7 separate regions of the Homo sapiens genome follow, and regions 1, 2, 3, 4, 5 and 7 are each linked to region 6. The links are contacts of gene promoters, found by promoter capture Hi-C in blood cells and fetal thymus (Javierre and others, 2016). All regions are on one chromosome and are shown on one strand. The core of a region is centred on a gene start or on the middle of the fragment in contact, and the rest is flanking DNA. Distances in the headings are between cores, read along the strand shown.

Region 1 (3,557 bases), core at 964-3,463, 390 kb after region 6:
GTTGACTTGGTCTCTGAAACCGAAAAAAAGAATTAACTTTTCCCTGATGCTTAAAATAAAGAAAAAAGGAAGAGCAAAAAGCCATGTAACAGTGCCCCATGCGTTTACATACCAAGCACATCCCTGCTGATTGGATTCTCACACCACCCTGGCGAGACAGGCAGGACACGTGGTGCTATCTCCATTGTATAGATGGTGAGATGAGGTCTCAGAGAGGCTAAGGGACTTTCCCGAAGTCACATAGGAAACCAGGACTAAAGCACTCTGCCAGCACCCTGACTAAAAGCCAGGCTTTGGCACCTGCAGGGCAGTATTTTGGTTCATTTTGTGAGATCCCTCAACCCCAACTGGCTCTGGGGCTCCTATGTGGCAAGTAAAGCCTCTCAGCCTTGAGGGGCTTCCGAGGGCCAAATGCCATGCACTTTATAGGACTGAATTGAGGAGCAGCCCCCAAAGACTTTGGAGGCCAAATCACACTGCATTTCCCAATGGACTGTACAGGTTAGCCCAGCGTTGCAGACAGAATCAGCCCACCCGGCCTCGGAACAGCGCCACCTGGGAATCAGCACACAGTGCAGAGGATGGGAGGCTCAGGAGAATGCCCCCGCCCCCTGGCTCTGCTCACCACATTGGGTCAAGGTGAAGGGCAGGCTGCCCTGAAGATCCATGAGTGCAGGGCCTTCCAGGGTCAGTTGGTACCATGGTCAACATGGGGAAACAAGGGCAAGGTCGTGGGCAGTGGTGAAAATGCGGATTCCTAGGCCCCATCCTGTAGAGGCCCTCACTGAAGCCCGAGAACTTGCACTGTAATACATGGCTCCATGGCTCTGGGACAGATGGTCCCATGGTTAGAGAGTCCCTGCTTTAGCAAAGAGCTTAGGCCTGGGGTCTCCTTCAGTTGTTCAAGCTGTGGTCTGGCCTGGCCTGGTCTGCCAGCAGCAGCAATTCTCGCTGACTTCTCGCTCCCTCTCTTTTCTCTCTCCACTGCCTGTGGGAGGGATGGACATCCGTTCTGTTGTCTCCTTGAAGCTACCTGTGCAAGTCCTGAGGACCCAGCCCTGGGCCTGTGGAAAGGAATGGAAACCACCCACTCAGGTGTGGTGCCCCAGCCTCGTGGCTCTTCTTGTCAGCCTTCACAAAGCTGTGATTCATACTGGAATCTTGTAAATCTCTGAATGGCCAAATAGAACAGGGCTGGGGGTAGAGGGCATGGGGTGACTAGTGGAGAGAGTCATGAGCTGGAGGCTGCAGGAGTGAATTGCAGCTCCTCCGACAGCCGGTTTGAGCTTGGACAAGGCATGCCTCAGTTTCTCCATCTCTGAAGTCAAGGCTTCAGCCAGATCCTAAGGTGACTTTAGTGCTAACCTGTCCTGGTAGTGGTGGCAGTCACACAAAGACACGCTGGATGCACACAGGGACACAATCTCCCAGAACACAGAAGCCTCCCACGTGCTGCTGGTGGTTGGGCTGCTGCCTCGGCTGCCTTTGTTTGTCCCCAGTCTCTGTCAGACCTCCACTCAGTATGCGGCGCTTGGTGTCTGCAGCTTCCACTCAGCACTCCAGAAACCTGTTTGTGAGCTCAAGTCACACTAGCCTCCCTAGGGGATATCTTTCCACAGAAGCCTACTTTCGAATTGGGCCTAATTGTAGCATATATACCTTTAAATAATTTTTTTTAGTGTATTTGAAACAGCTGTCATTTTGCATGTGCATCAGCTGAATAAAGTGGAGCAGCCATTTGAGCTCCTGGTCACCCCGAGTCTGCAGCAGGCTTCCTTCACCCCTTGCAGGAGAGAGACCTCAGGGAGGAGAGAAGCTAGGAGGTTTGAGAACAGAGTGAGATCAGCTCGCCTGCTAGTCTCAGCCTTTCACAGATCCCTCCTCACTGTCCCCTGATGAGTTTCCCAGGCCTGGCTAGATCATGTTACTTTCCTGCTCAGAGATCTCCACTGGGTTCCTCAGATCTGAGCCCAGACTTTCCAGGCCTTCCTCAAATCCCACACCCTATAGGGTTCCCAGGGTCCAGCAGCACCCCATCACCCACTTGCTTTCCTGTGTAAACGCTCACTGTCCTCCTCACTGAGGGGCTCCCCAGGGCTCTGTGATCCCGCAGGGACTTCCTCCCTCTTGTTCTGCCTTGCTCTTGAGTTCCTCCAGCAGCCTGGGCAGGGCCTGAGTGACTCACAGTGGGTTCCCCAGAGCCTAGCACAGAGCTTGGCTCTTGGGAAGAGCTGGTTGAAACTGGATGAAAAATGGGCCTTTCCTCTGCTTCCATCTCATCCTTGCCTTTGAAGTCAGTTTAATGGCTGCAAACATATTAATCATTTGGATTTCCTGTTTGTCCCTGAAAAATAAGCATTCAAAATAGGATTTCGAGGACAGGCAGGGCAGCTCACACCTGTAATCCTAGCACTTTGGGAGGCCGAGGAGGGTGCATAGCTTGAGCTCAAGAGTTTGAGGCTAACCTAGGCAACATGGTGAAACCCCGTCTCTACTAAAAATTCAAAAATTAGCTGGGCGTGGTGGCGTGTGCCTGTAGTCTCAGCTATTCGGGAGGCTGAGGCAGGAGGATTGCTTGAGCCCAGGAGGTGGAGGTTGCAGTGAACTGAGACCGTGCCACGGCACTCCAGCCTAGGTGACAGAGCCAGACCCTGTCTTTAAATAAATAAACAAAATAGGATTTTGAGACCATCAGAACATGTGCTTTCCTGGATTTGAAAACAGGCGATGCAGAGACCATGTATCTGGCCCTGAGGGTGGTGGGGGAGGTTGTGAGTCTCTGGGGCGCCTGCAGTTCTGGGAAGTTTACCGTTTATGGAGTCCTTGGTGGTCAGGAAGCCCAGGCCAGCAGGATAGCGGTCCAGCTCAGTACTGTGTTGGGGCCCTGGCCCTAGTGCTTCCCTCCCTCCTCCCTCCTCCCTCCAAGCTGCCTGCTCCCGGCCACTGGTGCCTTGGAATCGTAACTCAGAGCTCAGAGCAACAGGAATGCTGTAAATCCCCGTCGCGCTCCCCTTTACAAGCAGGCAGTTGGGCACGGCGGCACTTTACAAGAGAAAGCAGCTCCACCACAGCAGAATGCAGCAAGTGCCTGTCACACGGGCTGTCCTGCCACTGCCTCTGCTTGCTCGGTTGGACACAGTGGGTACCACAAGCCAGGAAGAAGCATCACTCTTGTTCATCCCCATCCCATCCCAGGGCCCTCTGCCCCTTAGCAGGGTCTCCTCCTGGGCCTCAGGCCCCCAGGGCCTTGTTGTCCTTTCTGCCACTTGCCCTTGTCACACAGTGAGAAGCTGCTGTCGCCCTGGACAGCTGTTGTTTGATAAGCTGGCCATCTGCCCTGGGGTGATGGAGCAGAGTGCCTCGGCCTCCGTGTCTCTGTGATGTGAGAGGTACAGGGTTCCAGTCCTGAGGTGGTGGAGCTGGACAGCCCAGAAGGCCAACCACAAAGATGAGATAACTTGGGGTAGCAGTACTTTAGGAGTTTTGCCCACTCTGCAGTCATTTTGTACCCTCCTGTGCCAGCTTCTACACTGGGCGTCCAGAGATTGACATAAATG
Region 2 (3,552 bases), core at 841-3,340, 450 kb after region 6:
AAGGAGAGAGTTTTCAAACAGTAGGCATGTCTGGGTCCAGGCAGGCAAGTGATTAATCTTAGTTTGTTGCTGCTGACAGCTAGGAGAAAGAAATAATAAAGGTTTAGGGGCCAGTGGGAGTGGGGATATGAGGAAAGGCTGCTCTCCCCTCATCTATCAGCAGGGAGCAAGTCTCCACTTCCTTCTGCCGTCCAAGCATCCCCTTGTTGGGTTAACATCTGAGACTCCAGACACCTAGCTCCGTGGTGGTTGCTTGCTCCCATGTGTGAGCCACCAGGGTGGTCCCTGCAAGGCCACAGTGGGACCTCCCTGGCCATTGTTGAGTTCCCCACACAGCCCCAGCATACCTGAATACCTGACAGTGGACTTAGTAGGTCACTGTATTCCCCAGCCAGGCCCCTGCAGGGATGATGAAGCCTTTTAAGAGCAAACTTCAGGGAAGGCAGGTGTGTGCAGCTCAGGTACAGTACTGCTTGCCTCAGGACCCCCACACTGCTCAGCAGTGGTTGCAGGGGCCCTGAGCTCCTGGCCATGTGCCCCATGACTCCCCCAACAGAGGGAGCTCTGCACAGCGGTGAAGACAATGGCTCTGGGTCTTGGCTTAGGCTCTTGAAACCCAGCTCCGCCACATACTAACAGGGTAGTGTTGGGCAAAGGGACTGAACATCTCTGAGCCTTGGTTTTCTCATCTATAAAATGGGTTTCACAGGTGTATTAATGAAGACACAATATATGTGAAGTGCTTAGCATATGCTCCAGCATATAGTGAGTGCTCTATCAGTGGTAGCTCAAATGTCTTTATTATGGACCTCAGAGAGCCACGGGTTGTTGGGGAAAGAGCTCGGTGTGTCCCAGTGCATTGCAAATTGTCTGGGTTCAACCTGGAAGTCTCCATCTGTGCCCACATCCACTGTCCTTTACGATGATGGGTTCTAGATTTTATTGGCTACAGCTGGAAAGAATGCTAGAGAATCTCACAGAACTGGAGTCCAATCCAGGCTCCCCTCTTCCTGGATAACCTGTCTTGAACCTCTCACCTCTCTTGCACTCTGTACGTTGTGCTTTGGTGTGACCTTGGATGAATGAGTGAACTTCTCTGACCTCCTAGTTGCTCATCAGGAGCTGGAGATGATGACCACTCAACAGGTATCCTTTTTCATCACCATGCTGCTGCCCCTCCAGCTCTCCTGCCCATCTTCCGAACTTGTGGTCTGGCCTCCTCATCTCATAGGGAAGCATGTTGGCAGCCAGTCAAGGTAGCAGCTCCAGGAATACCCTAAGCAGAAATCTTGGGGTTTAGGGAACAGAAAGAGACTTTTTCAATTTTCTGGTCCAATATCTTGAACAAGTGGAGATACTGAGGCCCAGAAAGAGGAAGAAGCTTGCCTGCCTCTGGCTTTCCCAGCAGGCAAGCTGTTTGCTAGCAGCATTTGAGCCAGCCTGAGTCAGGGCAGCAGGGGTGGTGGGGGAAGAGGGGGTCTGTCTCTTTGCTCTTATCGCATGGAGGATTTCATGTCCTTTCAGGGCTCATGGAGGAAAAATGAACTTTCTGCTCAATTAGCGTGCTTCGTGTTTTCTCCTTCTAAAAGGTTTAAAAGAAATGCCACAATTAGAAGCCACTGCTGTAGGCAAAACAGAGACTCCTCAAACACTCTTTGCAGAGGACTAAATGAGAACAGTGAACTTTAGAATGTGCAGATGCCTTGCAGGATAAGAGAGTGCACCATTGAGGGGACACTGTGAGGAATATTAGATGACATTTCCCTTTATTCAGAATTACTGAGAAAATGTGCCCTGCTGGTGGTAAAACATTGCCAAGGACGCCACCCTCAACATTAGACTGGCACCTCTTCTGGACTCTGAGCCTGGTGCTTTGGTGATTCTGGTGCAGTGGGGGTGGAGAGTGTAGGAACAGCCCTGGGCCTATGCCCAGGAGACCTGGGTTCAAATCCTAGCTCTGCCTCTGACAAGTTACGGGATCCCAAACTAGTCACCATGATTTGCACCCTTCCTTTCTGAAGGGTTCAGACAGACCCTAGTTTGAGTTCTGCATATTCTCTGAGCCCTCTGTTTACTCTCTAGCACAGCAAGTGTAAATCCTGCCCCGCCACCTGCTCTGGGCTGCTGTAACATGTGAGTGAGGTGATACGGGTCAGCATGCCCAGCACAGGGCCTGATATTTGGGAATAGCCAGCTTTCACACTGTGATAGTATGTTCAAGAAGAGTAGCAACCATTGCCATCATTTTTACAGATAAAGAAACTGGTGTTCACATTACGTCACAGTTAATGAGTAAAGAGATGAGATTGCAACACAGCTCGAGGCCTCTTTCTACCTTGTGGGGTCTCTCGGAATAGAAACACCCCCATTCCTCCCTAGCAGGCCCTGAGAAGCCCAGCCAATGGCCAACTAGTTCTCTGGACCAAAGCTGGATTTTCTGACAGGACCTGTGACCATGAGCCCTGTGCCCAGCATTTCTCAGACCCCTTTCCCCAGGCAGTGGTGACATGGAGAAAGCCCAGAGACCTGAAACCAGAGGGGCTGGTTCTGAGCCAACAGTGTCAGCATCCATGACCCAAATAGAAGAGTCTAGTTTCTTCTCTGGGTCCAGCCCTCAAGGAGCTGTGAAGAAAGCGCAACTCATTGCTCCTACTTTACAGAAGAGGAAACAGAGGCTCAAAGGGGCTTAACCTGTCTTAAGGCCGTGTTGTCAGGGAGGGGCAGAGGCTGAGCCTGCCCAGCTCCTGGACCACTGTTCTTTCCTGACCCTTCTCAGCCATTTGCTCCAGCTAAGCTTAGAAGTTCTCCATTTGCACTCAGGTGCTAGGCTGATGATGCTGAGACTATCTGGTAGCAAACTAGGAGGCCAAGGCCAATTCAGAGGGGCCAGTGGCAGGCGGCCTACATACCTGATGAGAGAGAAGTTTAGGAAGCCCTATCTGGCCCTGGGTGTGTGATATAGATCAGGAGAGAAGGACTAGGGCAGTGGGAGTAGAAAGGAGAGGTGTGTGGAGGTAGAATTGATGAGAGGGAGGAGGAGTGAGGAGTCAAGGACCACATCCAGATTTCGGAGCAGCTGGGTGGATAGTGGCTCTCCCGGCTGCAACGTAGACCTGGAAAAGACCAGGAAAACAGACTCCCTGCAGCTCAGCTTCCCCCTTCCCAATGCTGCCTAAAACGCAGAGGCAAGAGGTGCCTGCTCTCATTCTGCCTCACTCTGCCAGTTCACGGCCCAGTGCACCACCCCCCAACCCGGCAGTGCCAGACGTGCCCGTCAACAGGCTGGGGTTCCCTCCCTGGACTGCTGCGTCTCCCGTCTGAGCCAGGGATGGAGCAGTGCCCTTTGTTTTACCGGAGCTCCTTGGTCTTCTCCAGCATCTGAGCAGCCGCGATTACATTTCCAGCCGGTTTTTAATTGTCTCGTATCAGCCCACATAAATCTGCCTGTGCGGCTCCGCCACCAGGGAAGCATTCCAACTGCCCGTCTGTCTCCAGGAAACCTCTCGTGCCCCGGGACAGTTGCCTTCTGAGGCATTGGGTGGTCTCTCCAAA
Region 3 (3,297 bases), core at 227-2,726, 370 kb after region 6:
CCCAGCTAATTTTTTTGTGTTTTTAGGAGAGACTGGGTTTCTCCACGTTGGTCGGGCTGGTCTCGAACTGCTGACCTCAGGTAATCCGCCCGCCTCGGCCTCCCAAAATGCTGGGATTACAGATGTGAGCCACTAAGCCCGGACATGCCTCATCATTCTTTTTAGCAGGTTTGAGCAATTTCAGCAGAGATTCCCTTTGCATTTCTGCAGTGGCTCCTCTTCTGAAGTGCCACCAGCCCTTCCTGTAGCCGGGTGATCTTCCTAGAACGAGTTTGCTGAGAGTAAATTGGCCTTGGCCTGAAAGCTGCTGTGGGTTTCAAACAGAAAGCCTTGCCTTGCAAGATCCTCGGGGCTAGGATCCCTGTTGGGCCACCCCCCCACCCCGTCACTTTCAGGGTGGTGACAGGGCAGAAGTCTTTTTTTAAATTTATTTAAATTTTTATTTTCATAGGTTATTGGAGAACAGGTGGTGTTTGGTTACATGACTAAGTTCTTTAGTGGTGATTTGTGAGATTTTGGTAGCCCTCTCCCCCTGCACAGGCCGAATTGCTCAATCTGGAGCCAGCCCACATGATTGCAGAGGGGTTACCATTTCCTCCATGTCTTAGATCCTGGAGATGGCACGTCGGGTCCTCTTTTTCTCCAGTTGACCACCAGGGAAGAAAACAAAAGAGCTGCATGTTAGCACAAACTTCTTGCTTCACTTCAACGAACAGGGCTGAGCAATACCTGGGAAAAGTACAATTCCAGAGTAATATCTGGAGGCTTGTCTCTAGACTGGTGGGGAAGGGTGCTGGCTCTAGCTTATTGTTTCCCAAGCTTTCCTGATAAGGATCACCTGGCTTGCTTGTTAAAATACAGATTATTGGGGCTAGGAATCTGTTTCCTTAACAAGCGTTCCAAGCCATTCCTGTCTTCAGGCAAGTTTGGGAAACATTCTGTCTACTGTACCAAAAATAGCCTGTGGAAGAGGAGTGCTTTTAAGCAAGTTTAGTTTTGCACATAGTACATGAATAGGTTCTCCTTGTTTGAAAATGTTTTAACATTGCAGAGAAGGTCTCTTTTGACTTCCCCTAAGCACCCCATTCCAAGTCCTTCCCTCCTTCCCAAAGAGGGGTCAGTTTGGAGTGTGCATCTCCCAGACCCTTTCTTTAACTTAATAGAGATACAGGTTTCTGTTTTGTTTTTCATTAAGTAGGTATGATGTTGTAGTTATCATTCTACAGCTTGCTTGCTTTCCATTCAGAGCTATGTCATGGAGTGCTGTGCCAGCTCACACAGAGCAACTGCTTTTTTTAAATTTTTTTTTTCAGCCTGCTGCATAATGTTACATCGTATGGAACTAGCACAGTTTATTTAGCGATTCCTCTATTGATGGATGCAGTAGTTTCGGGTGGTTTCTCATGATTACTTCAGGCAGCATCCTTCCCATGGACCCTTATGCACATTTGGGAATAAATACTGAGAAGTAAAATTGCTGGGTCAAACTTGGCGCATTTGGGGATTTTAATGGATTCTGCCCAAAGTTACCCTTGTAAGTGTCTCCACCCAAGTGCATTTCCACTGAAAGCATGTGGAGAGGACCCAATTCTGCTCACAAGTGCAGCTGTCCCACAAAAGCAACTAAAACTCTGACCAGTCCATAGGGAAGTGTGGCCAAGGGGCAACACCCACCTTCCTCTAGTCCTTTCCTTTGGGATGAACAGCTGCAGACTACTTCCTATCACAAAGTGAAGTTTCTAAGATAAAAACACAGGGGCCCCAGCAGTGTGCGTTCCAGAGAGGAGGCATGGAGAGGCCATCCCCAGGCCACTGCTGGTTTGCTAGGTGACTGACAACGCCCTGCAGTGGGCCCTGTGGAAAACAAGGGGAGGTCAGAGCAGGTCTCCAGGAGGACAAACCTGTGGAAGCCCTGTAGGGGCTTTGGGCTGACCTGGGGTCTGTAGTTTTGTCTGAAAGCAAGAAAGGTGCTTGCCTGGGGTTTAGCACTCATCCCAAGAGGCCGAGCAAACAAAAGATGACGTGGCTCACTGACTAAGCAGCCGCACTCTACAGCCTTTTTTTCTGCTACTGCTCAGCTCTGCCTCTGTGGCTGCCAGGTCTCTGCCAATCTGAGACTAAAAGGAAAGCTTCTTGTGGACCCAGGTGGCCTGGCCTGCAGAGGAGTCCCGGCTGGCTCCCTTTTGGTTGAATTGTTCAATTAGATATACAGGAGTTGTCCACTAACTGGGAAGTTTTAAAGCAAAGCAAAAGCAATCCCGTCAGAAATCCAATCTCACATCTGGAGAAAACTCATTCTCTTTCTTTTAGCTCAAAAAAGCAGCACGCTTCACACAAACCTTCTGCATGGCCATCTGGACTGGCGGTGAGCCCCAGGCAGCTTGGACAGTGGTCACACTGCCCAGTCCTGATGGCTGGGGCCCATGGTACTTCACAGGGCACTCTGGTTGACTGCCTGCTCAACTCTCCTAACACCTGGTTGAATTTTTATTCCCAAAACTAGGACATCATTTTGCAAAAGATCAGACAGTTCAGTGTAGTGTTTGCAAAGTTTCAGGTTGCTCAAACCTCAAATTTCTTTCCCTCCACCAACCTCACTTTGAAGTTCAAAAGCAAATTGATTAAATATACATTTTAGGAACTTTCCAATTTGCTTCTTAAACTAACAGAATTCTAGACTTTTTTTTTTTTTTCAATGGAAGGATTTTCAACTGTCAGCAGGTATAACTGGAACCATATGTCAGCAGAGACCAGGGGCTTTTCCTGGTTTTAGGATTTGTACATTCTTACTGAAACGGAAGTAAGTGGAGCAGGCAGCCGCAGCTCCATGACAGCCTGAGCTCAGATCTCATTTTAATTAGAAAATATAGGTAGCACTTGCTGAATCACAGTCCTTCCAGAACTCCTGTCCCAGGGCAAACAAAGATTTGGTTTATATCCTGCAAACCTCTGTGTTTGCAAATTACAGAGCACTTCTGAGAGCTGGAATGGCGATTTCTAGATTACTATGGAGACTGCAACCCAACTGCCTCTCCCACCCCGCCAGCAAATCCCCCCAAATGATTTTGTTTTCCAGGGGAGACATTTTTTCCCTTCCTTATTGCAAAATAGATGGAGCATGTTCATGTTGAAGAGAGACAGTGAGGAAATCTGGGACAAGAGAAATAAGATTAGATGTCATCCACAGCAGCAACTCATTTTCTCCATTTGGATGTCTGGCCCCTTGAACTCTGAGACACAAAACCCTGCACCTGACCAGCATCTGAACTGTTCCGTTTGACAGCAGTTTATGTGTAT
Region 4 (3,493 bases), core at 68-2,567, 470 kb after region 6:
CTGGGGACATCTGGGTCAGGACAGCAGCTCCCCATGCACCTTTCAAGCTAAGGTAAACCAGAAATCCCCTCTGTGTCTGGAGTCCTGTAACTGGGTCCCACACATTAGTCCCAAAGGCCAATTTCCATCCTTCTCCTGCATAAATATTATATGCAAGTATTTTTAAGTCATTTCATCATGAAAAGAAGCGATTTAACATAACTATTACCCAGGATTCTTCATGAAATATGCATCAAGCAATTAGGTCTAAAAGCGAGAGGTGAGGCCTCGCACCCTGCTCGGCGGCCGGCAGCTGCAGGCTGAGTAATGTTTTATTAAAGCCCGTGATTGCGCTGCAAGGTGGGGCCTGTTATTAGCCCTGCGTGCCCGGCACATTTGATAATCCTGATGATGAGGAGGTGCTTTTTGTGATGATAATGAGCGATCTGAACGCCTGTGACAGCTCCAGCACCCCGGCCTCTGCCAGCCTTACAAGACTCATTAGACAGGTCACCCACCAGAGACACCTCTCATTGTGACTTTGCCCTCGCAAGATGTCCTATCAAAGGAGATGTGGCTGATGCAGGAGCTTGGCAGGCATAGCAGCCTGTTGAAGCTCCCCGGGGGCAATGCCCTCCCTGAACGACGATGGTGCTGATGACGGTGCCGAGGTGTGGAAGCCCATGCTGCCTTGAAGAAGGGTGGGAGGAGATGTGGCTCGGAGCCCGGCTCAGCTGGCTCGGGATGCGGGGCCGGGGCTCTGGGTTCACCTGCAGCCTGCCTTGCTGTGCGCCTTGGGCCAGGGTAGTGTACTCTCTGGCCTCAGTTTCCTCCACGGTACCCCAGGGGAGTGAGAGGTGACCCCCAGGCTGCTTGCAGCTCAGAATACATGCTGCCTGGAGCAGCCATACTCCTTGCCTGATGAACCCCTCTGTTCTCCACAGAAGTGCTCATGCTTCCTTTGCTCATGCTCGCGTCTCCTTTTGTGTGAAGGTGGGAGTCACTGAAGCCACTCCTGGCAGCTGCTTTTAAATCTTCAACTGTTAGATGGCATCTCCCTCATGGGGACCTTAACCAATGAGAATGTATTGTCACAGCATGTCTCCTGGCTGTGTGTGGACAAGGCGTCACCTGACCCTTGCATTGGTCGAGGATTGGCAGATAGTCTCGGGACCTCGGACCCCTGGGGGGGCGGTCACCACCCTGCCTCTCAGGCTGGGGGGCTCCACCAATCAGAACATGCCATTTCCAATCCTCGGCACAGCCCCTTGTGTGGGTGCCACACATTGTCTTTTACTCCCAGCCCCTCTGCTGTCTCTGACCTGCCGTCAGCCCTGCACCATGGGCGCTGTGGAGGCGGAAGATCAGCGTGGAGGGGATGTTTGCTCAGAGTCTGACGCCTCTCATCCGCCCCCTCTGCCTGGCTTCACATGGAACACTGAGGGTTACATGAGGCCCTCTCTCAGGTCTGGGGAGTGCTGAGGTCAGGAGCACTGACTCTGGGCATCTGCTGCTGATAATCACTGTGTGACTTTGGGCCAGACACCTCCCCTTTCTGCACCTCGGTGCTTCAGGACATAGAGCCTGGCCTACAGGAAGGATTGTCCCTGAAGGCAATCCTGGCCAATGCCCCAGTGAAAGCAGGACTGGGGATGAGGGCAGCGGTGGAGGGAAGGTGTGAGGCTGCTTGCAGACCCCTTCCTGCAGGAAGCCCTCAGCGGGTAGGCAGCAGATTATGTTTTGCACATGTGGAATCCAGGATCTAGGGCTGGAAGTACCCCCCAGGGTCATCTAGTCAGCCTCCCTGTGGATGCAGCAGGAGAAGGGACAGAGCCCAGCAAGGCACAAGGATAGCCTGAGGGCCAGGGAACCCACGGGGTGCAGTGCTTGAGCCCAGGAGGGTCAGCATGTGAACGCGCCTTTCTCCCTCTGCCTGAGAATGGTCAGGCCACAGACTAGAGGTTCATGGAGCCCAAGTGCTGGTCCCAGCTCTGCCTTGGTCTCTGAGCTTCATGACCAGTCTGCCCCATCGGCACAGCCTGGCTCAGGGTGGTAAACTCGTGGGTGCTTACACAGGCGAGATAGGAGTGTGTTGGGGGTGATAAACAGCAGGCTCAGACAGGCAGGAGGGACTTCCCGGGGACGTCTAGACTCTCTTCAGCCTGGCAGCTGCCCCACCTCGCTATCTGTCGGCAGCCAAGGTACAGAGGACATTGTGTGGCTTTTAGTACTTGGTGGCCATTCTAAGCCCCTAACCTGGGAACAGAGGAGCTTAGCTTCTGCTTCGGACTCTGTCAGAGCCATTGCTGCTATCACTGTCCACTTCCCTTGCCAGATGCCGTAGAACAAATTCATATGAAATGTTGCCTTCACCCATGTGAGTTACTCTCCTAACCTTGAAAATGAAACTGGCTTGTTCCCCTGCAGCTTCATACCTGCACACTGGCAGACTCAGTTCCCGCCAGCGGCTGTGACCCTCTGCCTGACACCTCCTCCACTCTGTCCCCCAGGTATAGATCTGTGAGAATCACAAAGCCTGCTGGTCCAGCACCCCAAAAACGTAAGGCCACTCAGTGCATGCACGCAGAGGGGAATGATGTGCCCAGGGTCATACCCTCCTCCCTGCTGAGTGTCCCTGGCACCTGCAGCCCCTCCTTACCAGCCCTGCTCTCTCGCCCTTCCACACCCCTTCTCCAGGCAAAGCTGGGCATGTGGCTCTGAGAGCTCAGCTTTTTAACTCTTCTGCTGTTTTCTCAGCCACACAGTTTCAGCGCATTACTTAAGCAATCACAGCCCTTTCCAAACTGGCACAGATCTGTGGTCTCTTCGGCGTGGTGGGTAGGTGAGTCTTTGCTGGAATGGAGTTTTACATTCTTCTTGTAACACACATGCCGTTTCCTTTCTGCAGCCTAAGCGAGTGCGCCGCCTGCTTCTCAGACGTGTCTAGGCAATTCTCCGATGAAATGACCCTTCACTGAGGAGCAGAACTTGCCACAGGCTCTGTAATTAGAACATTGCCAGCCTTAAAAAAAATCTTGATTTAAATTCCAGTTCTTTACAGGAATTAGTCTCTCTTGAAATGTAATTGGCTCTCCCAACGATTTCCTTTAAGCTAAGGGTGACATCTCTAAATACATTATTATGAGCAGACATATTGCTTAGTGCTCGCACTTCATTAAGCATTTGTTCTGCCCATTTAAAAATGGTCCTGGAGCCCAAATTAAGGTGTTAATAGAGTGGGCACTTGTAAGCTTGGGAAGCCCAGTCCTGACTGGAAGAGATGTGTTCAAGCCCTGAGAGCCCCTGTGGGAGCGACAGCGGCTAGGGGCGGAGCTGGAGCGGAAAGGCTGCAAACCTTCAAGTCTGCTTGGAGCTCAGGTTGGGGGAGTCTGCTGGAGGCCGTGGAGATGGGGGCAGGTGATTTGTCAGAAGCTCCAGCTTTCTACCTAAGGGACAGACACCCGATAAAGTGGACTGTGCTTTGGAAAATCTAAAGCATCCACACGTCTGGTGG
Region 5 (3,723 bases), core at 909-3,408, 410 kb after region 6:
GCTATGCAAAACAACAGATTTTCAGTGTAGACAAAGCAGCCTTCTATTGGAAGAAGATGCCATCTAGGACTTTCAGAGCCATAGGGAAGTCAATGCCTGGCTTCAAAGCTTCAAAGGACAGGCTGCCTCTCTTGTTAGGGACTAATGCAGCTGGTGATTGTAAGTTGAAGCCAGTGCTCATTTGCCATTCTGAAAAATCCTGGAGCCCTTAAGAATTATGCTAAATCTACCCTGCTCGTGCCCTGTGAATGGAACAACAAAGCCTGGATGGCAGTTCCTCTGTTTACAGCATGGTTTACTGAATATTTTAAGCCCACTTTTGAGACCAACTTTAAGGAAAAAAAGATTCCTTTAAAGATACTACTGCTGATTGACACTGTTCTTGGTCACCCAAGAGCTCAGCTGGGGATGTACGAGGAGATGAATGTTGTTTTCATGCCTGCTAACACAACATCCATTCCGCGGCCCATGGATCAAGGAGTAATCTCAACTTTGAAGTCTTATTATTTAAGAAATACATCTCATAAGGCTATAGCTGCCAGAGATAGTGATTCCTCTGATGGACCTGGGCAAAGTAAACTGAAAACCTTCTGGGGAAGATTTACTGTTCTAGAAGCCATTAAGTACATTTGTGATTCATGAAAGGGGTCAAAATAGCCACATTAACAGGAGTTTGGAAGAAGAGTCCAGTCCTCACAGATGACTTTGAGGCCTTCAAGACTTCAGTGGAGGAAGTAACTGCAAATATGATGAAAATAACAAGAGAACTAGCATTAGAAGTGGAGTCTGAAGATGTAACTGAATTGCAGGAATCTTATGATCAAACTTGAACAAATAAAGAGTTGCTTCTTATGGATGAGCAAAGACAGTTTTCTTGAGATAGAATCTATTCCTGATGAAGATGCTGGGAACATTGTTAAAATGACAACATAGGATTTAGAATAGTACATAAACTTAGTTGATGAAGCAGCAGCAGAGTTTGAAAAGATTGACTCCAATTTTGAAAGAAGTTCTGCCGTGGGTAAAATGTTATAAAACAGCCTTTCGCTAAGAGAAATCTTTCGTGAAAGGAAGAGTCAATCTATGTGGCAAATTTTATTGTCTCATTTTAAGAAATTCCCACAGCTGGGGGGAGGGGCATAAAAAATTTTCCACAGCCACCTCAGCCTTCAGGAACTACCACCCTGATCAGTCGGCAGCCGGCAACATCAAAGCAAGACCCTCCACCAGCAAAAAGATGACTCACTGAAGGCTTAGATGATTGTAAGCAGTTTTTGGCAATAAAATATTTTTAAAATTAAGGTTCTACATTTTTTTAAGGCAGTGGTATTGCACATTTAATAAACTACAGTATAATATAAATATAACTTTTGTGTGCATTGGAAAACCAAAAAATTTTACAGGTACCTGCCACCATGCCTGGCTAATTTTTGTATTATTAGTAGAGATGGGGTTTCACCATGTTGGCCAGACTGGTCTCGGACTCTTGACCTCAAGTGATCTGCCCACCTTGGCCTCCCAAAGTGCTGGGGTTACAGGCATGAACCACTGCACCCAACTTTGGTGGGGGGGCCTGTTTTTTTTGTTGTTGTTGTTTTTTTGTTTTTTTTTTTTCAGGGAGGCACTAAGTTGGTGAATACTGGAGCAGAGTATAGCTTGTTGCTTGTGGACTGGGCAATCTTTTAAACCCCCATCACATCCTCTCAGGATTACTGCCTGCTCTCTTCCCCAGCCCTTACCTTCTCCACATTCCCATGGGCAGACCCCGCCATGGCCGCAGTCTGTGGGGAGCACACCTGCCTAGCTCTCCTGGTGAATGGGCCCAGGCAAATTCTTAGGGTCCCTTTCAGTTCTAACATTCTCTGATTCTAAAGAAAGTGCTTTAGTCTTCTTTTCTTTCTATGTATGTAGTTCTGTTTACAAACCTTTCTGCTCCAGAGGTCAACAGAAACCCCCATCCTGTTAATGTTTCTGCTTTCTGCCTAAGAGGCATGAAATTACAGACTGCCACCTAATATTAAAGGTCATTTTGCATGAATGTGTAGATGCTGATGTTCAGATAACTTGTGACTTAAAACATATGGTCACAGACTCCCTTGTGAGATCGGTCTCTGGACCCTCATGGATTGGCCCAGCTAATAAGGAAGACGGGCCTGGTAGTTAGGCAGGAGGCAGCAACATCTGGCAAGCTGGCCTGGCACAAGGGCCTTCGATGTCCTGGAGCTGTTGGTGAGCCTCTCCCAGGAGAGAAGATGCTCCCAAATGGGCATTTTCTCAGGGAAAGGCAGCTGCTTCCTAAATACACGCAGCTCCTGGAAGCCCAGCCTGCTTAAAATCATATTTACTCTCTTTCATGTGCTCATCTTAATTACATTTTTTCTGCTCTAGTGTCTTTATTCATTATTTAAAACAACTTTCAAAAATAATTACGCGATAATCCCTTCTCCTCTACACAGTAGCTGTTTACCTTCCTGTATTGGGTTTTTCAGCTCTTGGTGTTGTGGATGTCTGTACTTACAACGTTGCTGTCATCACAGTGTAGATATAGGCCAAATCTGTGATGTCAGTATTTACCAATGCCCAGGCAAGGAGCAGAATTCCCTGTGGGGCCCTGCTCATATTGACGGAGACTTGTTTAAAAAGCCTGCGTTATACTTTGCCCCCCACACATAAACAATCTTGCATTTTACTTTTTAGCTTAGCATAATTTCTTGCATGGTTTCCCATGTCGCTACATAATCTTCAGATTGATCATTTTAATGGCTGCTTAATATTCCATCCAGTTAACATGCCATAATTTACTTAACTCTTCCCTATTGTTGGGGCCTTAATGAAAATTTGAATTCGCCATGTAATGTAGTGGGGGAGGCTTGTTTTAATGATTACCGTTATAACATCCCCTGCCCTAACTGCATGCCATTACTAGTCCAGCTTTGGTAAGGTGCAGATGCTTCTGGAACAATAAATCCTGCATGAGAGGTGTATGCACAAGTCCTCTGATTTAATAGCTAATCTGTTCACTGCACATGTTTCCCTTTAAGGCTGGTGTTTATGGAGAATATCTGTCTCTAATGCATATTGTTTAACACTAAACTGTATGCATTTGGCATATTGTCCCAGATCCTTTATCACTACTGTCAGGGACTTTCATAAAGTATCTGGAATTTGGGGGTAAATAGTGGTTTCTGGCTGTCAGTTCTGTTTCATTTATCCCACCACATTCACTGAGTATCTCTTTGGCGTGAGAGTGAGCAAAAGCACTCCTGATTATCAGGGGCCCGACGGGAAGTACATCTGTGAATTGTTTGTGGTTCCTTTAGATTAAATGGTGAATTGCATGAAAAGTACTTCATCAACTGTGTACATGGGAGTGGTTGCTGGTCCTGCTTTTGTGAAGGAGGGTGAAGAGGAAGGTGGTTTTCCCAGGTCAGTGCCTTCTCAGCTGCCGTATCCTCAGCCCCCAGAATTCTGCAGACAGGAGGCTAGACTTCACTCCTCAGAACGGAGGAAGACGAATACAGGTGATGAGGACCCTACAAGACAATAAGTTGCAGATTAGTTTGGTAGATTTAGTGATTTACGAAGTTGTCCACCGTACTTAACAGTTGGTCTTCACCGTAAAGTGACAAAGTCCTACCACTCTTTTCCCTTCTCTTTTCCTGTTCCTCCCTCGGTAAAAAAAGGAAGCATCATCCTCAAAACTAATAAATGATCCGAGTTTAC
Region 6 (3,761 bases), core at 822-3,321:
AGAATTTGAATCTCTCTGCCTTTGATGTCTCATGAGTCTTGCTCCGCCCAGCGGTAAAATGGAATTGCACCTGCCTGTCCCTTCACCCCCAGCCTCTCACCCTCCACCCCTGGGCAGGGAGAGGAACAAAAAACTCAATCAGGAAAGCAAGGCTCCATGTAGGTCCCCGGCCCCATAAAAATCAATGTGATGGGCGTGGTGGCTTACGCTGGTAACGCTTTGGTAGGCCGAAGTGGAAGGACTGCTTGAGGCCAGGAGTTTGAGACCAGCCTGAGCACATAGCAAGAACCGTGTCTCTACAAAAAAACAAAAATAAATTTGCCGAGCATAGTGGTGCATGCCTGTAGTTCTAGCTGCTTGGGAGGCTGAGGTGGGGGCAATCACCTGAGCCCAGGAGGTTGAGGCTGCAGTGAGCCATGATTGTGCCACTGCACTCCAGCCTGGGTAACAGAACAAGACTGTATCTAAAAAAAATAATAATAATCAATGCTGACCAAGAAAGTTTCCCTTCCCCTTGCGGGTGTTAGGAATAATGCTCAAAATCCTAAGGAAATTGAACACTCGAACACAGGATTCTTAGCAAAGCAATTTTACTTCTGCGCAGAGGGATGCCTCCTTGGCCAGTTGCCATGAGAGCACACCTGAACAAAGGGGCACGAGAGCCTTTATTCCTGATGCAAGTCCTGCCCCTGTACCCTTTCCCCATTGGCTGGGGTCAGGTCGTACAATCTAAACTAATCCCGGTTGGCTAAACATTTGATTTATTTTAGATAGAGTGGGCACGTAAAAGAAAGTGGAGAGAAAGGGGAAAGGGTGTCTGTAATGAGCTAGAAAGTTAGTCTTCTTTCCAAATAAGCAAAGGAATGTGAGCTGGTACTGATAACGCTTGGTACTGTGGCATGCCTGGGCATCTAACAAAGGCAAAAAGGAGAAAAATGAAAAAAAAAAAGGGGGGGATACTAAGAATTAAAGAATAAAAGATTGATCAGATTATTTGAAGAGAAACCTCATCATATCCCACAGGGGGAAGCTGAGTCAGCAGATCTGCCAGGGGTGCCCAGGGTTCCATTTAGCTCAGGACTTTGCCATATGCTGGGACACAGCCCCCTTGCCACCAACAGGCCTGGCTCTGAGGGTGAGGAGACCAAAAGGAGGTAGGGGAAAGGGGAGTCACCAACCCATGGGGTAAGGATTGGAGGGGTGAAGCAGTCAGGAGAGGTGGTCATAGGCCAAGGCTGGCAAACCTTTGCAGCCACACCAAGGCCGTTCCTACTCTTGGGGCCTATATGGGGTTCTTGCTGGGGCCTCCACTTGCTGATAGGAAGATCACAGCTCACAGAGCATCATGCTTTACAGTTTGCAGGCTGTCTTCTCACGGGAAATTTGCCAAGCCTCTCTGCAGTCCCTGGGTGGTCAGGGTTGATGATGACCCCCATTCTGGAAGAAGGCTGGGCATCAGAGAGGTTCAGGGACTCACCGAGGACACACAGCAAGAAAGTATAGGAGCCTCACCCCAGACTTCCACAAACCTAGCTTTGCATATCCTCCTGAATACAGGCAATTTTTTACAGTTCACCCACAGCGGGAAGGACCGGACCTTCTCTATCCGCGGGAACTGCAGCGGCGCCCACCTCACCCCTTCTGCGGGGGAAAGGGCGCAACCTTTGGGCTTGTCCAAGCCTCTGGGCTATGGTCAGGGGCCCTCTGTTGAAGTGGGCCGAGTGGGCAGGAGTGTTGAGGTCGAGCTAACGTGGTAAGGTCTGGGGGCGTCTGTGTCCTCGGGGCTCCTGTAGCGTCACCCAGAGGCGGGGGATGGGATTAGGGGACGTGGAGAGAGTCCTACAGTGCAACGGCGGAAAGGCCAGCCCCCAGATGCGGACGCCGCGGCCCAGAGAGGAAAGCCCCCACGCGGAGCCAGGAGCTGCGGCTTCCCGAGGGAGCCGAGGGGAGACCAGCGTTAGTTACCTGCAGCAGGCTCGGGCTCCGGTTCAGGATCACGCTTGGGTTCTGGTTCCGGCCCTCCCAGCTCTGTCCACATGGCCGCCCAGGGCTGGCCGCAGGTCCCGCCTCCGCGCAGCCCGGGGCTCAGCGGCCAATGAGGCTCCGCCTGCGCCTGGGGCGCTGCCTACGTCCTGTCGCCGGCCAAGGCCGCTCCTCCCTCGCCCCGCCCGGTCTTTCCCGGTCCCCGCCCCTCTACCCCCGGCAGCCCGCACCGCTTCAGCGCTCCCTCCCTCGGGTCTCCGCAAGCCCAGTGTCCACGTTGCTCAGATCTAGGCTCCTAAGGCACTGGTTTGGGAGCGGAAACAGAGATACCCAGAGAGGGGCAGGGGCTTCCCCAGGTCACACAGCAAAGTTTTCGGAGACCGAACCCCAACTACACTTTGCATTTCTCCCCGCTGCAAGACGCTGCTTAATCGACTGCCATCCTTGAGACTCCCCTTAACCCCTTCTCTGCCTCGCCTCTCCCTCACTTTTTTTGTCCAGGATTCACTAATTTCTGTCCTCCACTTTCACTGCTCCTTTCTTCAGTTCCTTCAAGAAGATTTTATATTTGGGCATTTTTCAAAGTACATTTTTGTCCTAAGGACAAAAAGAATGTATGCACAGTGTAGAAAGCTTGGAAAACACAGGAAAGGATGAAAAAAGAAGAAAAATATCACCTGTAATCTCTTCACCTACGGTAGCCATTATTACGGTGTTCGTCCTGCTAGTATTGTTTCCTCTGCATCTTTCAAAATTATTTTAATAAAAATAAAATCATATAGTAACCTCTGTTGTGCTGCTTTAAAAAAAATTTAAAAACTTAGCGCTGTATTTTGAAGTTTTCTCCTATCACTAATTACAGATGACATCATCCTCTCCAAGGTGGCATAGAATTCTGTTGTAGGGGTAAACTGTTGGACATTTAATTGTCTCCATTTTGTTGCTATAAAGGTTGCCAAGATGGACCACTGAACATGCATCTCACTCGCTCCACCCTCGCTGCACCTTCCTTCTGGCTAGGGAGGTCCCAAAGCTAACCGCCATGTTTCCCAGCCTCATTTGCAGTTAGAGTTCTGGATGTGGACTAGGTGCTGCCAATTAGTAGTACTCTGCCGGATGTGGAAGGCGGGCACGCATTGGAGGGTATTGTCCTGCCCCTGTAGGGTGGCACTAGCAGGATAGCAGAAATGGGAGATGTTCTGCGGCAGCATTCCTTGTCCCTTCTCCAGCTTTCTGGCTGTGGACCGGCCGCTGTGGCTGTAGCCGCTCCTTGACCTGGCTTCCTGCTCTTTGAATGGAGGCTGCAGGAGGGTGTCTGAAGTAGCCTCAGACAGGCACGAGGCTGGTGGGCCACGTCCATATTGTCCTGAGAGTTGGTCCTGGTCTGGCTAAGGCTTGCTTCTGCCTCCGGCACTTGCAGCAGGTCTGTAAGCACCCAGTTCCTTGTATTAAATCCCTGCCTCTCCACTGATCTAGGGTGCTCACATGCGACTGCTTGGACCTAATTCACTTAGTTCTTTCCTTAAGCTACATCTCTATGGAATCTTTTGCTACCATATCATCCTTAGCATGTTCACAGCCCTTGCTGCAAAAGTTAGCCATCCATGAAGGCACTATGATTGGCATCTTATCACCTTGATGCCCATGCTTTCCTCGGGTTTCTCCAGCAACGGCATGAGCCCCTTGCCAAGGCCCTCCTGCCTCCCCCACAGCACGTGGACAGCCTAGCTCCCCTTGGGCACTTGGCATAGCACTCCAGGACTGATTGACTTAATGAT
Region 7 (3,600 bases), core at 1,091-3,590, 430 kb after region 6:
TAGCGAGAGGCCACCTCTACAAACTTAAAAAAAAAAAACTTAGCCCAGCATGGTAGCATGCACCTGTAGTCCCTACTGCTTGGGAGGCTGAGGTAGGAGGATGGCTTGAGCCCAGGAGTTCAAGGTGACATTGAGCTATGATCGTGCTACTGCACTCCAGCCTGAGCGACAGAATGAGACCCTGTCTCTTAAAAAAAAAAAAAGAAAGATGAAGCCATTTTTCAAAACTGTTCCCAAAATCACTTGAGTGAGTCCAGCTCCTGAGTTTCCTTTGTTGACTGATGAATGGAAGATTTACAGTCCTGCTGAGCCAGGTGCAGGTTCATTCCTTCAACTGATGTTGAGCATCCACTGTACATCAGACACTGTTTTAGGTATCGGGAATTTAGCCTTGAACAAAACAGAATGAAATGCCCTATCTTCTTGGAGCTTCTCACTCAGGAATTTCAGCAGGAGTCAGAAAAAGGGGTGGTTTCTGATACAGGCATTGTATCAGAGCGTACATGTGACCATGGGTCAGGGTCTCCCGCTTACAGGGGGCCTGCCTGGACCTTGGTACATCATCTGTTACCTTCACGGTACAGGTATTGTCAGCCCTGGTTTGCAGATGAGGCAGCTAAGGCTCAAAGAAGTTTAAGAAACATGCCCCAAGTCACTCAGTAATGACAGAGACAGGATTCAAACCCAGGTCCTCCTGACTCCTAAACTGTGAGTCGAGTCACTGCAGCTCCTCCATTCCCTGGGTGGGTTTCAGCCACGGGCCATTCATCGGAGCTAGCTGCAGGTCGGCCATGGGGAGACTCCGAGGAGACTGAGGCACATGGCCCCATCTCTGCAAAGTGTCCAATTCTGAGAAGACACCTACATGCCTCAGTGTTGCAGAGGCCAGTGCCAGGACAGTGGTGCAGACTTTGGAGCTCAGAGGAGGAGAAAGGAATTCTACCTGGGGGTCTAGAGCAAAACCTACCCCAGGAGATAACGTTGGAGCTGAGCTCTGAAGAATAGCTGGGGTTTTTGCAGAGAAATAGTGAAGTAAAGGGATTCTAGAGGGTAGACTTAGCCAAACAAAGCCCTAAAGACAAAAAGGCAGATGATAGATCTGGGGACTGGCTGTCCTTTGTGATTGGAACCTAAGGGTGGGTGTGGAACCCACAGGGGTTTTGTAGGGGAAGTTGCATCATTACATCAAATTCAGAGGAACTTGAGCGCCAGAATGAATTTGTCCTTTGTCTTGGGGCACTGGGGAGCAGGGAGGGTTTGCAAACCCAGGAGAGCTATGCTTTAGAGGTCCATCGGCTTTTTGGAGTTTACTCTCTGGCCAGCTCTGAACAGTGGACAGGACAGTGGAAAGAGATCCACCCTGAAGGAACACATTTATCTCATCCAAGCACCTTCTCCACATGAAACTTCTGTGAGTTAGGGGCAGACAAGAGACTGGAGAGGGCAAAGAAAAATAAATCCCAGGCGCAGCACCCACAGCACCCAGGCTGACTGAGAAGAGTGGTGTGGATGCCCCCTGAGCTACAGGAGATGTACTGAGGGCTGGGAGCCACCAAGAGGGAGATGATAATTCTCTGCAGGTGGCATCAGGGTAAGCTTTGTGGAGGAGGTGGCGTTTGTGCCAGACCTTTCCTAGACATCATTCAGATGGAGCAGAAGGGCAGTAATTCCAGGCCTAGAAGTAGGAAGTGCACAGCAGGGAGGCCAGATGAATGAGGCCCAGCTCCTGCCAGACCAGCAGCCCTCAGGTATTCTTGTGGGGAATGAAGACCCAAGGGTGGGGTGAGCCTGACCTTGCAGGCCTGCAGTCCTGGGCTTGACCCTCACCCTGCTATTTGGCTTTGAGACCCTGGAGGAGTTCCTCCTACTACTCCTCTGGACCGCCGTTCCTCACCCATTACCCACGTGGCAGGGCCAGTAGGAGGGATAGAGCTAAGCTAGGTGTCTTGGATGCTGTCTTCTGTTGTTGGCAGTGACCACATTTTAGGACTGATTGGTGTAAAATCTGTCATACAAGCAGAAAGGGGACCAATCCAGATGGGAGGGCCAGGAAAGCTTCCTAGAAGCAAGGCACTTGAGCTGGGTCTCAAGGAATGAGTCCTGCCACCATGGCAGAACTTTTGGAAAAACATTGACCAGCCTCTCTCTTCCATCAACCACCAGGGTCTGGTCCCCATCATTGGAACCAAAGTCAGAAGGGCTCCCAGAGCCTCAACCTGCACAGCTCTGAGTCTTACTTTCCTCCTTCAGATTCCAACTTCCATTTTTAATTGCCCATAGGTGAAATTAATTAGGTTCTGTCATTCTAATGACTCACGGGGGTAGCATATTTTTTCTCTAAATGCAGATCTTCTTTTGAAGGACTGTGTCTTTATCTTTTGCAGAAAAATCACTAAATTAAAAGAATTGCCATGTTAAATTGCAGATTAAGGAGAAACGTAATTAGAAGGAATGAGAGCAGTTGTGTTTGGTGCTTTTGTTCTTAACATTTTTTTTCTTAGGCTGCCGAATCACTGCACTTGGAGTTTGTATATTTGTATTTTAGGTGAAATGATTTGCCTAATTAAGCCTGTCACTCATCACCACCTGTTCTCTCTAAGATATATGGCTATATTATTAAGCTTGCCAGCAAATGTGTAAATTATTTCAGTGGGGAATTACATTGTTGACTAGGACGTTACTAGTTTTTATCCAATTTATCTGGTATGAAACCGATTTTTTTTTCCCAATAAAGCTAAACAGCAGTTCATTAAGTTTCTTCATTTAATCACTTATTGAGCACCTGTTATGTTGCCGGTAATGGGCTAGGTATGGGGGAAGGGGCACATGATACAGCCCCTACCCTCAGGGGGCTCACCGGGAGCCAGGGTAGGACATGCAGTTAGGGTGCTAAGATCAAGGTGAGTCTTGGGAGAGGTGAGGTCCAGGAAGGCTTCCTGAAATAGGTGACCTCTGGAGGGTAAGTGGTATTAGTGAGGTGAAGAGATTGGTGGACCTGAGGCTGGACAAGCAGCCGGGTCCTAGAGAGCCTTTTGGGTTGTGCCGAAAAGCTTGGGCTCCCTCCACAATCATGTTCTGTGCTCCATGCCTCTCTGCTCACCTTCTGTGTCGGGATGTCGATTGTAGAGATTTATATTGGCAGAAATCCCCCAATCCTGATTTTAGCCAGTGGAGCCCCAGGATGTCAGGAGTGAAAGTGACTTATAATTCATCTGGTCCCTCGGTCTCCTGAGCCTGTGGCAAAACTAAGCCTAGAACCTCACTTCCAGCTTAGTCCCCTTCCTATGCCAGGGCAAGCCGCAGCCCTTCAACGCTGGCAGCCCTATGGGCCAGGATGCCTGCTGAGTTGTATCCTCTCTATTCCTGACAACCAGAAAATTAGCAGCAGGGAGGCATCATGGAGAAGTGCAGGCTAGTCCCATGCTCCCTGACCACATCCCCTTCTGTGCCCATCCCAATGGGGGCATCACCCTCCCCCAAGCCAGAAATCTGGGCATCACACAGCAGTTATCCCGGACTCACTCCCACAAGTAGTCAAGCTTCTACATCCCTCCCGTCATTGAGGGGGTCAGCCTCCATCACCTTTCCCTGACTGGTCTT

The links. The method cuts DNA at HindIII sites, captures the fragments that hold promoters and counts their contacts. A CHiCAGO score of 5 or more calls a contact.
Region 1: a fragment that was not itself captured here is called in contact with the fragment with the promoter of ALDH1B1 in region 6 in 2 of 17 cell types (monocytes and megakaryocytes); the score reaches 5.5 in monocytes.
Region 2: a contact is called between a fragment that was not itself captured here and the fragment with the promoter of ALDH1B1 in region 6, in 8 of 17 cell types (naive CD8 T cells, total B cells, total CD4 T cells and 5 more). The highest score is 9.6, in naive CD8 T cells.
Region 3: a fragment that was not itself captured here is called in contact with the fragment with the promoter of ALDH1B1 in region 6 in 2 of 17 cell types (naive CD4 T cells and activated CD4 T cells); the score reaches 7.1 in naive CD4 T cells.
Region 4: a fragment that was not itself captured here is called in contact with the fragment with the promoter of ALDH1B1 in region 6 in 14 of 17 cell types (naive CD4 T cells, megakaryocytes, total B cells and 11 more); the score reaches 15.4 in naive CD4 T cells.
Region 5: a contact is called between a fragment that was not itself captured here and the fragment with the promoter of ALDH1B1 in region 6, in 1 of 17 cell types (naive CD4 T cells). The highest score is 5.5, in naive CD4 T cells.
Region 7: a fragment that was not itself captured here is called in contact with the fragment with the promoter of ALDH1B1 in region 6 in 6 of 17 cell types (megakaryocytes, naive CD8 T cells, total B cells and 3 more); the score reaches 6.8 in megakaryocytes.

What each region holds. Positions count from the first base shown.
Region 1 is chr9:37,997,572-38,001,128 of GRCh38, reverse strand. The region is part of intron 2 of SHB (SH2 domain containing adaptor protein B); the gene reads left to right. Among named protein-coding and RNA genes, the nearest start is that of SHB, 70 kb to the left of the region's middle. RefSeq lists an enhancer at 2,950-3,451. The HindIII fragment of the contact is 7,612 bases long and covers 1-3,557 here.
Region 2 is chr9:37,938,509-37,942,060 of GRCh38, reverse strand. All of the region lies in intron 5 of SHB (SH2 domain containing adaptor protein B), which reads left to right. Among named protein-coding and RNA genes, the nearest start is that of SLC25A51, 36 kb to the right of the region's middle. The HindIII fragment of the contact is 1,413 bases long and covers 1,384-2,796 here.
Region 3 is chr9:38,017,903-38,021,199 of GRCh38, reverse strand. All of the region lies in intron 1 of SHB (SH2 domain containing adaptor protein B), which reads left to right. Among named protein-coding and RNA genes, the nearest start is that of SHB, 50 kb to the left of the region's middle. RefSeq lists an enhancer at 1,894-2,188. The HindIII fragment of the contact is 1,310 bases long and covers 822-2,131 here.
Region 4 is chr9:37,921,125-37,924,617 of GRCh38, reverse strand. The region is part of intron 5 of SHB (SH2 domain containing adaptor protein B); the gene reads left to right. Among named protein-coding and RNA genes, the nearest start is that of SLC25A51, 19 kb to the right of the region's middle. RefSeq lists enhancers at 1,012-1,306, 807-1,418, 2,165-2,264. The HindIII fragment of the contact is 3,831 bases long and covers 1-3,232 here.
Region 5 is chr9:37,977,512-37,981,234 of GRCh38, reverse strand. The region is part of intron 2 of SHB (SH2 domain containing adaptor protein B); the gene reads left to right. Among named protein-coding and RNA genes, the nearest start is that of SLC25A51, 75 kb to the right of the region's middle. The HindIII fragment of the contact is 4,096 bases long and covers 111-3,723 here.
Region 6 is chr9:38,391,012-38,394,772 of GRCh38, reverse strand. It overlaps ALDH1B1 (aldehyde dehydrogenase 1 family member B1), which reads right to left and starts at 2,071. Exons shown (of 2, transcript NM_000692.5): 1 at 1,966-2,071. RefSeq lists enhancers at 1,595-1,684, 1,725-1,774 and a silencer at 1,985-2,304. The HindIII fragment of the contact is 5,526 bases long and covers 1-2,618 here.
Region 7 is chr9:37,959,113-37,962,712 of GRCh38, reverse strand. All of the region lies in intron 3 of SHB (SH2 domain containing adaptor protein B), which reads left to right. Among named protein-coding and RNA genes, the nearest start is that of SLC25A51, 57 kb to the right of the region's middle. The HindIII fragment of the contact is 566 bases long and covers 2,058-2,623 here.